2 separate regions of the Homo sapiens genome follow, and region 2 is linked to region 1. Evidence: promoter capture Hi-C in human tissues and cell types (Jung and others, 2019). All regions are on one chromosome and are shown on one strand. Each heading gives the region's core, a stretch centred on a gene start or on the middle of the fragment in contact. The rest is flanking DNA. Distances are from core to core; before and after follow the strand shown.

Region 1 (7,247 bases), core at 687-3,186:
GACTTCTGGGACTAAGAACAGGACCCACATATGAGCAACAGGATTTTCAGAGCAAGGCTGTGGTTGGAAGGGCTCAGACCAACGTCCACAGCAGAGTGGAGGTCTAGTATAAAGAATGTGAAGTTTGTAGCATCTCTTGATCCCGCTATTCCTACATGCTTGCTTAAGCCATTCTTCCTCTAGATGAACTGTTCTTTGAAGGAAACCTGCCTAATGTCTGCCTGCTCAAGAAGGTGGACCTGAGCTCTGTTCCCTTTGCAACCTTCCTGGAGTCTTATTGCTATCTAGATGAACTCAAAGCAAGATGCTGCCGCCCCCATGACTTTGATCATTGTAAGCTGCCAATCCTCTTGGGAGGCTGCTCCCAGCTTGGACTGAGCTGAGTCTTCGCATGCCTTGAACAATGAATTTGCATCCTGGTTATGTTCCCCATGGGGGCCAGCCCTGTCCTTGGAGTGGCCCCTCTAATCATGTTGCTCAGGCTTCTTCTCCCTTCCTGGGCCCCAGAACACCTCCGGTGCCAAACTTGTGGGTGGGAACAGGAACTCGCGTGCCAGCCAGGTGTGCATGACTAGCTCTGGGCAAGTCTGTTCTAGTAATTCAAGGTACCACCTCTCACTGGGACAGCCTAGTTTCTACACAGGTCTTGCTCTGGGACCGCCCTCAGCAGTGTGGTTAGCAGGCAGGGCCAGTGTGACCCTCCCTTTCTGGGCCTCAGTTGAGAAACCTGAAGCTCAGGAGAGGAGTCACTCCCCTGGCAGATGGGTGGCTGGGCCAGAAGCAGATACCAGGCTTTCTGACTCCTGCTCTAGGATTCTCACCACGTACTGGCTAGACTTATACTTCTCAAATCTTAATTTCCTAAAGGCAAGTAACAGTTTGAATGTTGTTATATTGTGATGTATAATAAGAAATATATGTTTGTCTTTGTTTCCTGGACACAGCTCCTGAAACCATAAGTGGTGGGAGCGATAAACGTGAACAAAGAATCTTTTGTTATTCAAAACAGATCCCTTTCGATCACACCTAAGTTTATGTAAAGGAGATGTAAAGTCTCTAAGGATGAGGGCTAGTTGCCAGGGAACAAAACCCTTGCGATTAGAGGGAAGAAAGGAGAGAGAGATTGAAGATTGATTTGATCACCGATGGGCAACAATCTAATCAATCATGCCTACTATGTATGGAAGCCTACATAAAAACTCAGAAGGGCAGGGTTCAGAGAGCTTTCAGGTTGCTGAAGGTGTGGAGGGTGGGGCACCCAGAGATGGCAGATGGGGCTCCATGGCCATACCCCCATATCTTGTTCTTTGTACTTTTTCCTCTGGCTATTCATCCGTATTGTTTGCAATATCCTTTGTAATAAACCAAACCTAGTAAATAAACTGTTTTCTTCAGTTCTGTGAGCCATTCTAGCAAATGATTGACTCCAAGAAAGAGGGTGTGTGAACCTCTGATTTTTGCCAAGTCAGACAGAAGTTGTGGGTAACCTGGGGACCTACTACTTGCAATTGGTGTCTGAAGTGAGGGCAGTCTTGTAGGACTGAGCCCTTAACCTGTGGGGTCCGTGCTAACTCAGAATTCAGTTCAGAATGGAATTGAATTGTAGGATACCCAGCTGGTGTTAGAGAATAGGTCCGTGTGCAAGAAAAATTCCCGCACATCATGGACATAACAGACAACGTCAATGATGAGGAATCCAGCAAGTTCGGGATAGAGAATTGGCAGGGGGTCCTCAGGGGTCTCTCCAAGTCATCTTCAAAGTGTTGCTATAACTTTTCAGAGAGGGAGAAGCAGACTTGTGGAGCTGAAGAGAAACACCCAGAAGCTCAGGTGAAAGCTGACACGGCCATAGTTGGTTCATATTAACCATGTGATTAAAATGGTTAAATATTAATTTGGGTTCTTACATATCAAAGGGTAAAATTCAGAGCAAGGGAGAGGTAGACAGGACCTGTGAAAAGCAGTGGTTAGTTTAGGGAAAATACCTAGGAGCCCTGTGATTTGGAGAGTGAAAACTCTTTATTACCGTTGTTACTTTAACTCTTTCCAGGATGGCCTGCCTCCTTCGCTCATTTCAGAGAATTTCTGCAGGGGTTTTCTTCTTAGCACTTTGGGGCATGGTTGTAGGTGACAAGCTGCTGGTGGTCCCTCAGGACGGAAGCCACTGGCTTAGTATGAAGGATATAGTTGAGGTTCTCAGTGACCGGGGTCATGAGATTGTAGTGGTGGTGCCTGAAGTTAATTTGCTTTTGAAAGAATCCAAATACTACACAAGAAAAATCTATCCAGTGCCGTATGACCAAGAAGAGCTGAAGAACCGTTACCAATCATTTGGAAACAATCACTTTGCTGAGCGATCATTCCTAACTGCTCCTCAGACAGAGTACAGGAATAACATGATTGTTATTGGCCTGTACTTCATCAACTGCCAGAGCCTCCTGCAGGACAGGGACACCCTGAACTTCTTTAAGGAGAGCAAGTTTGATGCTCTTTTCACAGACCCAGCCTTACCCTGTGGGGTGATCCTGGCTGAGTATTTGGGCCTACCATCTGTGTACCTCTTCAGGGGTTTTCCGTGTTCCCTGGAGCATACATTCAGCAGAAGCCCAGACCCTGTGTCCTACATTCCCAGGTGCTACACAAAGTTTTCAGACCACATGACTTTTTCCCAACGAGTGGCCAACTTCCTTGTTAATTTGTTGGAGCCCTATCTATTTTATTGTCTGTTTTCAAAGTATGAAGAACTCGCATCAGCTGTCCTCAAGAGAGATGTGGATATAATCACCTTATATCAGAAGGTCTCTGTTTGGCTGTTAAGATATGACTTTGTGCTTGAATATCCTAGGCCGGTCATGCCCAACATGGTCTTCATTGGAGGTATCAACTGTAAGAAGAGGAAAGACTTGTCTCAGGTTGGTGGGTTTATTTCTTTTGGACTGCCTTGTTTCTTCCAGGCTCTGTCCTCCCTCACTCATTTGGCTCCTTGAGCCGACTGTCCCTTGGAGGATTTCCTGGAGAAACGGTGGGGGGAAGTGATACCCGGCTCGGAGCAGCGGGAACACATAGGAGACCTGAGGCTGAAGTGATACAGAGGCATTCGGATGAAGACAGGGCTCATGCTTGGCAAGAGTAGGAGATTTGCTTAGTTGGATAATCTGGGACAGTCACATACTCATTGAATGAGCCTTAGAAATGTCCCAGTTCAAACAGAGGTGAAGGCTTGACTAAGGGAACAGGTCCAGGTTAAAATCCATTTTCCCAACTCTGTCCCATGCTTTGTCTCTGGACCTTGAGCCAGGGACCAGCGAACTACAGCCTGTGAGCCCAATCTGCCCAAAGGCCTGTTTTTTGTTTTTTTTTTTCCTTTTATGTTGAGACCTGTTTTTATATGGCCCAGAGCTAAGAATGGTTTTTGTAGTTTTAAAACAATTTAACAATGAAGAATATGTGCCACAGAAGTATTTGGTCTGCAAAGCCTACACATTTACTGACTGGCCTTTTCAGCAAAAGGGGTATGGCCTCTGACCTAAGACAAGTGTTTACAGATGCCCTCCTGACATGTAGGAAAAGGGCCCAGAGTTACTTTGGAAAATAAAAATCTGTGAGTTTTAAATTTCAATGTAAATATTTACAACTTTGAAGGGCTTCAGGCAACTCCCTCTATCTTTTATGCCTCAATTTTCTTTTCCAGTTCCTTTTTTATCAGAGAGAAAGCCTCAAACAGGTCCCAAAGACCCTTACCTCTCTTCTTTACACCTGCTGATTTCTCTGTTAACAATTTGAACAGTTGGCAGTAGCCACTGTGAAAAGGCAAGGGTGAGGGGATGGGGATAACTGAAATGGTTCCAGGGATTCTGGGGCATGAAATAAAAACATAGAATGTCAGGATTCTTTTAATTGGGACATAATATAGTTGTACACATTTGGGGGGTTCATGTGATATTTTGATACACGTATACAATGTGCGATGATCAAATCAGGGTAATTGAGATATCCATCACCTTGAACATTTATTCCTTCCTTATGTTGGGAACATTCCCATTCTTCATTTCTAGCTATTTTGAACTGCAGTATACATTCTTGTTAACCATAGTCACCCTACTGTGCTATCGCACTTTGGACTTACTCATTCTATCTAATGGTGTTTTTGTGCCCATTAACCAACCCTTTTCTTTTCTTTTTTTTTTTTTTGAGACAGAGTCTCACTCTGTCATCAGGCTGGAGTGCAGTGGTGCGATCTCAGCCCACTGCAACCTCCACCTCCTGGGTTCAAGCGATTCTCCTGCCTCAGCCTCCTGAGTAGCTGGGACTATAGGCATGTGCCACCATTCCCAGCTAATTTTTGCATTTTTAGTAGAGGCGGGGTTTCACCACGTTGGCCAGGATGGTCTCAATCTCTTGACCTCGTGGTCCGCCCACCCCAGCCTCCCAAAGTGCTGGGATTACAGGCGTGAGCTACCGCGCCCGGCCTTCTTCTTCTTCTTTTTTTTTTGATCAACGTGCTTTATTGGCCCTTTAGATGTTTTTCTCTTTTCTATCAAAGTTTTTGGAGTATTACAAATTTTATTTCTTTTTTCTTTTTCTTTTTTAAATTTTAACCAACCATTTTCACCCCCCCTTCCCTACTTACCCTTTCCACCTTCTGGTAATTACCAATGAACTCTCTACCTCCATGAGACCCACTTTTTTAGCTCCACATATAAATGAGAACATGTGGTATTTGTCTTTCTGTGCCTAGATTATTTCACCTAACATAATGACTTCCAGTTACATTTATGTTGCTGCACATGACAGGTCTTCATCCTTTTTTATGGCTGAATAATTTTCCATTCTGTATATGTACTATCTGTGAGTGGAAAACAAAACCAACAAAAAACTCAAAGGGTTTTTCCTGTTTTCTCACTCAACAACAAACAACGCAGAAAACTTCAGTGAACAAATGTGTGGGGTTTTTTTTCTCCACACACCAAGCAAGCAGGCAATTCTGCCAGATACCAGCTGGGTGTCCTCTAATTCAGTTCTGAAGATGTCCACCTGAAGATAGCATCAGGTCCCACAGACATGGGGCTCAGTCCCTAATTTACATTTGAAGAATGTAAATTAGTACAGCCACTATGAAGAACAGTATGGAGAGTCTTCAAAACAAAACAAAACAAAAAGAACTAGAACTGCCCCAATATATCCCATTGCTGGGTATATATCCAAAAGAAAAAAATATATATTGAAGAGCTATCTGCACTCCCATGTTTATTATAGCACTATTCACAGTAGCCAAAATATGGAATCAACCTAAGCACACATCAGTGAATGAATGGATAAAGAAAACGTAGGACTGTAATATCGTGAAATATATATTTGGTCTTCATCCTCATTTCCTTATACAGATCTTTCACTTCCTTCCTTAAATTTATTCCTAGGTATTATATATTCTTTGTACGTTTTGTAAATGGGGTTGATTTCCTTTTCAGTTTTTTCTCTGTTGGCATTTATAAATGCTACTGATTTTTGTAAGTTGATCTTGTATACTGCAACTTTACCGAATTTGCTTGTCAGTTCTAACAGCTTTTGGGTGGAATGTTTAAATTTTTCTGAATATATTATGTCATCTGAGAACAAGAATAATTTGACTTCTTCCTTTCCAACTTGGATGCCCTTTCTTTCTTTCTTTCTCTTGCTTAATTGCTTTGGATAGGACTTCCAGTACTATGAAGAATAACAGTGCTGACAGTCAGCATCTTTGTCTTATTCCAGATTTTAGAGGAACAGTTTTCAGTTTTACCCTTTTCAGTATGATGTTAGCTGTGGATTTATCATATATGGATTTTATTGTTTTGAGGTATGTTCCTTCTGTAGCCAGTTTATTGAGAGTGTGTATCATAAAGGGACGTTGAATTTTGTTGAATGTTTTTTCAGCATCTACAACATATGAGTTCTGTCCTAAATTCTGTCAATGTATTCATATCAATATATCAATAAATGCATCAGGATTAATTATCTTTTTAACATATTATTGGATTTGGTTTGCTGGTGTTTCGTTGAGATTTTTGCATCTATGTTCGTCAGAGATATGGGCCCGCAGTTTTCTTTTTTTTTGTTGTGTCCTTGTCTGGTTTTGGTATCAGGGTAACACTGGTCTCACAGGATGAGTTTGGAAGTATTCTCTCCTCTTCATTTTTCTGTAATAGTTTGAGTGGAACTGGTATTAATTCTTTTAAAAATGGTTGGTAGAATTCAGCAGTGAATCCATCTGGTCCTGGGCTTTTCTTTGATGAGAGACTTTTTATTACTGCTTCAATCTTGTTACTTATATTGGTTTGTTGAGGTTTTCTATTTCTTCTTCATTCAATCTTGGTAGATTGTTTGTGTTTGGAAATGTATCCATTTCCTCTAGGTTTTCTAATTTGTTGGCATATAGAGTTCACAATAATCGCTAATGATCCTTTGTATTTCTGTGGTGTCAGTTGCTGTGTTTCCTTTTTCATTTCTGATTTTATCTGAGTGTTTTCTCTTTTTCTTAGTCTAGCTCAAGGTTTGCCAATTTTGTTTATCTTTTTTTTTTTTTAAAAAACTTTTTGTTTCATTGGTCTTTGCATTGTTTATTTAGCCTCAATTTAATTTATTTTTTCCCTGATCTTTATTATTTCTTTCCTTCTACAAAGTTTGAGTTTGGTTTACTTTTGCTTTTTTAGTTCCTTGAGGTGCATTCTTAGGTTGTTTATTCAAAATATTTCTGCTTTTTGGATGTAGGCATTTATTGTTAAAAACTTCTCTCTTAGTTCTGGTTTTGCTATAGCCCATAGATTTTGATACATTGTGTTTCCATTTTCATTCGTTTCAAGTAATTTTTAAATTTTCTTTTTAATTTCAAGAAAATCTAATTAAGAAGTTAGTAAGCAAAAGTTATGCATTTATTTAATGATTTCTTACCATTGATTGAATCAAATCTATTGACTCCTTCTCCTAGAAGTCTAGGGTATTGGAAAAAAGTAAATGAAAGCTATTTATTCTTATTACAAAGAAATATTTGGTGTAAGAAGGAAAAAATATCATTTCTGCACATTGGTACCAATTATCTTATTTTTTCAAAAAGTTGTACTCAGTTATATTGAGAAACTGGGCTCTAATGAATGTACTTTTTGAGCCCTGTGACCCTGTATCTGGTGCTTGACCTTGTTTGTGTCTCAACTGTATTCCCAGCATGTCGTCCTAGAGAACATTCTGTATTATGATATGTAATTATCAACATG
Region 2 (7,176 bases), core at 4,600-7,099, 33 kb before region 1:
CTGACAATTTAACCTTGTGAAAAAACCTAAAAAGAAGAAAAAGTAAAAGAAAAAAAGGAAAAAAACCTCCAAATTAACCTATTCTGTGATTGTGATTTTTGGGATTTTAGCTGTTAGAGAGTTTAGATTTCAGGGAGTTAGACCTTAGGGATTTGGATCCTTAGGGAATCAATATTTCAGAATTCAACCTTCAGGATTATGTGTTTTGGGGTTATGTCTTTCAGGATTGTGATCCAAACCCTATAGCATCTTGTTTCTTAGCATAACCTGTACTAATCGTAGATATATCTCTGTACTCCAGCAGAGCATCATAAAATTAAGTAGTTTACAGCAGAGAGTCTCAACCTATCAGTGATTAAGGAATAGAAAAAAACGTTTTCTGCAGTTGATTATATATTCATAATTGTTTGTAATATATAACAAAAATGAAAAGCTAGAAAGTGAAATGAAATAAACCACAGCCCTATAAAATGCAAAACTACTGATGATTGCTTGGCGACATAGCAACACCAATTGCTACAGGAATTTCTAAGCATTTCCTGCAGGGTCTGCACCCATGCTGAGGTGGTTAGGTAACACAACGAGCTGCAAACCACATCTTGAACAGACTGTTTTAGACCCAGTCCAGTGGCTCTATGTGAGTAGTGTTTAATCAGAAATAAGGCCCAGCACAGTGGCTCACGCCTGTAATCCCTGCACTTAGGGAAACTGAGGTGGGCGGATCACCTGAGGTCAGGAGTTCGAGATCAGTCTGGCCAACATGGCAAAACCCCGTCTCTACTAAAAATACAAAAATTAGCACAGTGTATGGCGGGCATCTGTAATCATAGCTACTCGAGTCTGAGGCAGAAGAATCACTTGAACCTGGAAGATGGAGGTTGCAGTGAGCCGAGATCATACCACTGCACTCCAGCCTGGGCAACAGAGCAAGATTCTCTCTCAAAAAAAAGAAAGAAAGAAAGAAAAAGTAAACAGAATACTAAAGAAAGAAAGAAAGAAAAAGTGAACAGAATACTTTCTGTTTTGTTAATGTGCTAATTACATGGTCACAAACAGTGACTAATTTGTGATCACCAGGGCAAAGTCTATTATCAGCTACCTGTTTTCCTTGTAACCTTGTGTTTTGGGAACCTAGCAACTCTACTCCCCACTAAGTGACAACCCATGCAGGTTTGCCCAGATTATTCCCAGTTTAACACTGGAAGTCTCACGTCCTGGGAGACTCTTCATTCCCCAAGGAGCAGGGACAGCAGGTCACTGTCACTGGAGCACTGGAAGCTGGCCACATCATTAGCAGATTCAGAAGGGGCACGACTTAAGGAGGCTCATGCTTCTCTTGTCTTCTGCCTTAGGCTGTCATTTCCAATGGGTGACAAGTTCCTTCCATGCAGAAGCCAGGCCAGGAGATAAAGTCATCTTGTCCTAGAAAAACTGTTAGAAAGAAGGGAAACTGTCTAGTGTGTTTCGCCAAAAGAGTTTCACAGACTCTTCTCTTGTAGGGGATATGGGGGTGGGTGATCACTGTCCTGGTCTCCCTGAAGCAAGGACGCCTCTCTGGCCTCAGGGTGCCTGTCAGGCAAGTCTCTCCTGTCCCTGGAGGTTCACAGAGCCCCATCCCTGCAAGAGCAATGCTAAGTGGGGTTGGCTTTGAGCCCCAGCCATTCTCTTAACAATTCTTTTAGTTAAGTATCAGTTCCCCCATCCCCTCACTCCAGCATTTTTTGCCTCTTGCTATGATCAGTTTTCTCACTTTCACTTTTACACCTCTGATCACTGAAAAATTACAGAATTATAAGTTTGGAAAAGGAGTCTATATTTCTTGGAAAAGGTTACAACCTTCAAGGTGGCCATCTAGCTGGCTGGGAAGCATGACCTCTGGCAAATACCAGAGACAGGCCCTTGAAAGGAGAAGGGATGGGGTAGGAGCTTTATGCTGAACAAACAGGGTAAACATACATATTCACCAGGTTACAGAAGGAGCTATGAATATTTATGAAGGCCATCCTGACTCATGCGTATTGAACACACATGCATGTTACATATGACCCGTGTTCACCCTGGGGTGGAGACATCATATTTAAATGGATTACAATTAGGCCCTATACATCAAAAGGTCTCTTCAGGGCACAAAGGCACTCAAATTCACAGTCTCCGTAAACTGGCCAGAACCAGTCTGTGATCACCAGTCACTGGTCTTCTTACCAGGAGAAAGTTACTGAAATCAGCCTCTTGTCCAATGAAAGCAGTATTTGTGGCTTATGGAACAAGGAATGGACGTCAGTTAGTCAGTGTCCGGTGGAGGTGCACTTGTTTAACATTGTTTTTCTCTAGACCTGTGCTTATTTAGCTGCTAGAGAAAAAGAAAAACTCTGTGGCAGTTGGAACATAGTTTATTCTTTAAGTGTAGGCGCCCATGACTCAACTCTTGCCTGGCGTGGTTTGAGGTCTTGTGTGTAGTTTTGTATCTGATTGCCACAAAAAGTCCACTGAGTCCATCTCATCTCTATTTTAACACTAAAGTGGGTCAGTTGTGTTTAAACCACAAAAGGGAGGGAGTGTGACGAGGCGTGTCCAGCCTTCTGTCCCGTCGTGGCTGTGACTCAGTTTTGAAGGTTTCTTTGGGGTCCCGCTGGCCAGGAGGGTTCGATTCACTTGTTGTGGGAGACGGGCGGCACTTAGTATTTTCTTTTCAGTTTACACGTTCCTGGGCATCCCTATTAAGATGTGCAGATAAACACGCACATGCTTCATGTGGCATCTCCCTTAGTTAAACATCTTTTTTTTTTTTCCTTTCCTGTGAGTCTTCCTGAAACAGGTGAGCCCAGGTGGAGCCTCCGCCTGCGTTAGGACCTAACCTTTCTACGTCTTTATGAAATCCCTGGTGTCAGTTACTGCTGCTTCCCCTCACCAGCTTCTTTCCTTTGGTCTACCCTAAGAATGTGATACCCAACACAATACACCGTCTCTTTGGCCCACTCAAGACATTCTGGTGATGCCCTGTGGCCTGCTGGCCCCCACTAGCTATCAAGGTCCCCCATCATCTCACCTTTCCTGGCTCATGGGCTTTATTTTATGCCACTCTTCATGCTCAGAAGCACCTGGCGGTTTAGTTTTTTTGTGTTGCTCTAAAGGAATACCTGGGGCTGGGTAATGTATAAGGAAGAGATAATATCTGGCCCTCAGTTCTGCAGGCTGTATAAGAATCATGGTACCAACATCTGTTTCTGGCAAAAGACTTGGGCTACTTCCACTCATGGCAGAAGGTGAATGTGGAAGGTGCTGATCACAAGGTGAGAAAGAAGCAAGAGAAAAAGGAGGGGTTGCCAGGATCTTTTTAACAATCAGTTCTTGCAGGAGCAATAGGACAGGAACTCACCCATTATCGGGAAAAACATACTAGGTCATTTGTGAGAGATCCATCCCTGTAACCCAGATACCTCCCACTAAGCCCCACCTCCAACATTAGGGATTAAATTTCAACACTTGACTTGAGGGAGTCAGATATCTAAACTATATCATTTGATATGGTCAGTCTTTTTGATTGCAGCTATTCTAATGGGTATGTAAATTAAATTGCAATTTTAATTTGATTTTCCTATTTAAATATGATGTTGAGCATCTTTATGTGTGACTGTTTGCCATCTGTATATGTTCTTTGGTAAATGTTCAGGTCTATGCCACTTTTTAAGAAATTGGGTTTTCTCTTCATTATTGAGGTTTAAAAGTTATTTATATATTCTGGATATTTATACTTTATCAGTTTCTGGGCTTTTTTCCATGAAACTTTTTATTTTAGAAGAAATTTAGATTTATGCAAGGTTGCAAGAACTAGCACAGAGAATTTTCATATCCTGTGCCTAGTTTCCTCCTCTTTTTTTTTTTTTTTTTTGAGACAAAGTGTCACTCTGTCACCCAGGCTGGAGTGCAGTGGGGCAATCTTGGCTCACTGCAACCTCTGCCTCCTGGGTTCAAATGATTCTTGTGCCTCAGCCTCCTGAGTAGCTGGGATTACAGGTGCACACCACCATGCCCAGCTAATTTTTGTATTTTTAGTAGACACAGGGTTTCACCATGTTGACCAGGCTGGCCTCAAACTCCTGACCTCAAGAGACCCACGGACCTTGGCCTCCCAAAGTGCTGGGATTACAGGTGTGAGCAATGGCACCCATCCTCCCCTATGGTTAAATGTTACGTTACTATAGCATATTATCACAACTCATTAACCAACATTTGATACATTATGATGAACTAAAGTCTGTGTTCTCTGCAGATGTCATTAATTTTTACCTAATGTCCTTTTTCATTTCTAGGATCCCATCCTGGATACCAAATGACATTTAGCCCATCACGCCCCCTTCATCTCCTGTACCGTGTGACAGTTTTTCAGACTTTCCTTGTTTTCGATGACTTTGACAGTTTTGAGCAGTTCTGGTCGGATGTTCTGTAGAATGTTTCTCAGTCTTGGTTTGTCTGATGTTTTGATCATGGTTAGACTGGGGTTATAGGTTTTAGGAAGTAAGACCACAAAGGTAATGTCTTTTCTTGCTTTCTTGACTATGGATAGCCAACTCTTGAAAAGAGTAGTCTTTTCTCCACTGAATTGTCTTTGCACTTTTGTAAAAACTTGGTTGTTCATACTGCTAAACATCTATTTCTGGACTTTCTACTCTGTTCCATTGATCCAGTTGTGAAATATGTGATAATTATAGCTTTGTAATGTCTTGAAATGAGTAGTATTAGCTCTCTAATTTTTTTCAAAGTTGTTTTTGCTATTGTAGGTTTTCTACATTTCTGTATGAATTTTAGAGTCAGTTTGCCAATTTGCACAAAAAAAAGCCTGTTGGGATTTTGGTTGAAATCATATTTAAGTTACAGTTCAACTGGGGAGAAACAGCATCCTAACAATTTTGAGTTTTCCAATTCTTGAACATATCTCTATATTCAGATCTCTCCTCAGTGTTTTAGTTTTCAGTGTAGTCTTTCACATCTTTGATCAGATTTATCCCTAAGTATTTCATGTTTTTGATGTTAAGTGGTATTTTCATTCAATTTGCAATTGTTCATTGCTAGTACAGTTGACCCTTGAACAATGTGGAGATTAGGGATACCAACCTCGCAGGTAGTCTAAAATCCACATATCATTTTGACCCCCATAACTTAACTATTAATAGCCTACTGTATAGCAGAAGCCTTACCAATAACGTAAATAGCCAATGAACACATATTTGATATGCTTTATGTGTTATATACTGTATTATTGTAATAAAGTCAGCTAGATAAAAGAAAATGTTATTAAGAAAATTTTAAGGTTTGAGAAAAAATTTTAGGGTTGAGAAAAAATGTATTAAGTATTCATTAAGTGGGAGTGGATCATCATAAAGATCTTCCTTTTGATTGTCCTCCACTGAGTAGGCTGAGGAGGAAGAGGAGGGGTTGGTCTTGCTTTTTCAGGGATGGCAGATGAGGAAGAGGTGGAGGAGGTGGAAAGGGAGGCAGGAGAGGCAGGCGCACTCGATTTAACTTAATGGAAATACATCATAATTACTGTCTGACATTTTTGCTCTTTCAGTTCTTTAAAAATGCTTGATATAGTATGAATTCTTCTTCACCATTTGCTTTAGTTTCAGTGCCCATATCATAGAAGGGTACAATTTGCAAAAGAAGTCAAAAGCAGTCTTCAATAATCGGAATCCTTCTGCGAGATTGTCTAATGTCAATTTATTTTCTGACACTGCTTCTTCTGTATCTTCTTCCTCATTGTCTGGTACTGATTCAAAAGCACTCATCTCATCAAGTCATCTTCTGTTAATTCCTCAGGTGTGGTGTCTATTAGCTTTTAAGTATCTCCAAGATCTCTGTCTTCAAACTCTTTATGCCCACCTTGTTTTTCTTGCCTGCCATATCCACAATTTCTTTCATGAGTCCCTTGATTGGCTCTGTTTTAAGTCCTGTGAAGTCACGCACAACATCTGGACACAGTTTTCTGCAGCGATAATGTATTGTTTAGGGCTTGATGGCTTTCACAGCTTTTTCTATACAACAAGGACATCTTCCACAGTGTAATCCTTCTAGATTTTCATGATGTTCGCCCCGCTGACATTCTCTTCCATAGTGTTGACAATCCTTTCCATAGAAAACCATGTGTAATGAGCCTTAAAGTGCCTTGTAACCCCTTGTTCTAATGGCTGAATTAGAGATGATGTTTGAGGACATGGAGACCACTTTGGCTCCTTTTGTGTTGAATTCATGGGGTTCTGGATGGCTAGAGGCATTGTCCAATATCAAAAGTAATTTAAAAGACAGTCCTTTAGTGGCAAGGTATTTCTGATTTCAGAGACAAAGCGTTGGTTTTCATGGAACCAGTTTGGAAAAAGTGTTTCTGTTGTACTGGCCTTCTTGTTCTACAACAAAAAGACTGGGAGCTGGCGTTTATTTTTTCCCTTAAAGGCTCAAGGATTAGCAGCTTTATAGATAAGGTTATTCTTAATCATAAATTGGACTGTATTTGCATAAGACGACAGAGTTAGTCTATCTCTTCCTGGCTTAAATCCTCGTGCCCGCTTCTCTTCCTTACTTATAAATGTCTTTTGTGGCATTTTTTTTCTCTAGAATAGGGCACTTTTGCATGAATTAAAAACTGGCTCAGGCAGATATTCATTCTCCTCAATGCTTCTCTTCATGGGGTCTGGGAAGTCACCTGCTACCTCTTGTTTGGCAGAAGTTGCTTCTGTTATCTTGAGATTTTTAAAGTCAAACCTCTTTCTAAAACTAGCAAACCATCCTTTGCTGCCATTAAATTCTCCAGCTTTATATCCTTCAGTTTTATTTAGCTTTATGTTGTCATATAATGACTTTGTTTTTCTCAGGTCATATTAGAGTATATAGGTATGCCTTTCTTATAACCATCCTACACCCACATAAAAGCTGCATTTTTTATAATAAAATTTTATGTAGATAATCATGATACAGAATTACTCTTTGACAAATTATCTATGGATGTAATGACTCTAGTTTCAGACTTTTTTTTTCTGAAATATGTGAGCGTTCCCCAACAGTCTGGTCTATTTTCCTACCTTAATTTTCTACTTTTGGTCTTGAATTTGTTGATAGGGCACAGAGGACTTCCCATGAGGCTGTAAAGAACTTATTTCTCTGTGTGGGCTGTGCACACCATGG

What was found. The method cuts DNA at HindIII sites, captures the fragments that hold promoters and counts their contacts. A contact is called where the count stands out against the background at its distance.
Region 2: a fragment that was not itself captured here is called in contact with the fragment with the promoter of UGT1A6 in region 1 in 2 of the 25 tissues and cell types used here (pancreas and psoas muscle).

Annotation. Positions count from the first base shown.
Region 1 is chr2:233,690,954-233,698,200 of GRCh38, forward strand. It overlaps UGT1A6 (UDP glucuronosyltransferase family 1 member A6), which reads left to right and starts at 1,937. Exons shown (of 5, transcript NM_001072.4): 1 at 1,937-2,912. The coding sequence starts at 2,052. All of the region lies in intron 1 of UGT1A8 (UDP glucuronosyltransferase family 1 member A8), which reads left to right. The region is part of intron 1 of UGT1A10 (UDP glucuronosyltransferase family 1 member A10); the gene reads left to right. All of the region lies in intron 1 of UGT1A9 (UDP glucuronosyltransferase family 1 member A9), which reads left to right. It also overlaps UGT1A7 and UGT1A. RefSeq lists enhancers at 75-682, 683-1,289. The HindIII fragment of the contact is 31,227 bases long and covers 1-7,247 here.
Region 2 is chr2:233,654,148-233,661,323 of GRCh38, forward strand. All of the region lies in intron 1 of UGT1A8 (UDP glucuronosyltransferase family 1 member A8), which reads left to right. The region is part of intron 1 of UGT1A10 (UDP glucuronosyltransferase family 1 member A10); the gene reads left to right. It also overlaps UGT1A. Among named protein-coding and RNA genes, the nearest start is that of UGT1A9, 14 kb to the right of the region's middle. The HindIII fragment of the contact is 7,367 bases long and covers 2,167-7,176 here.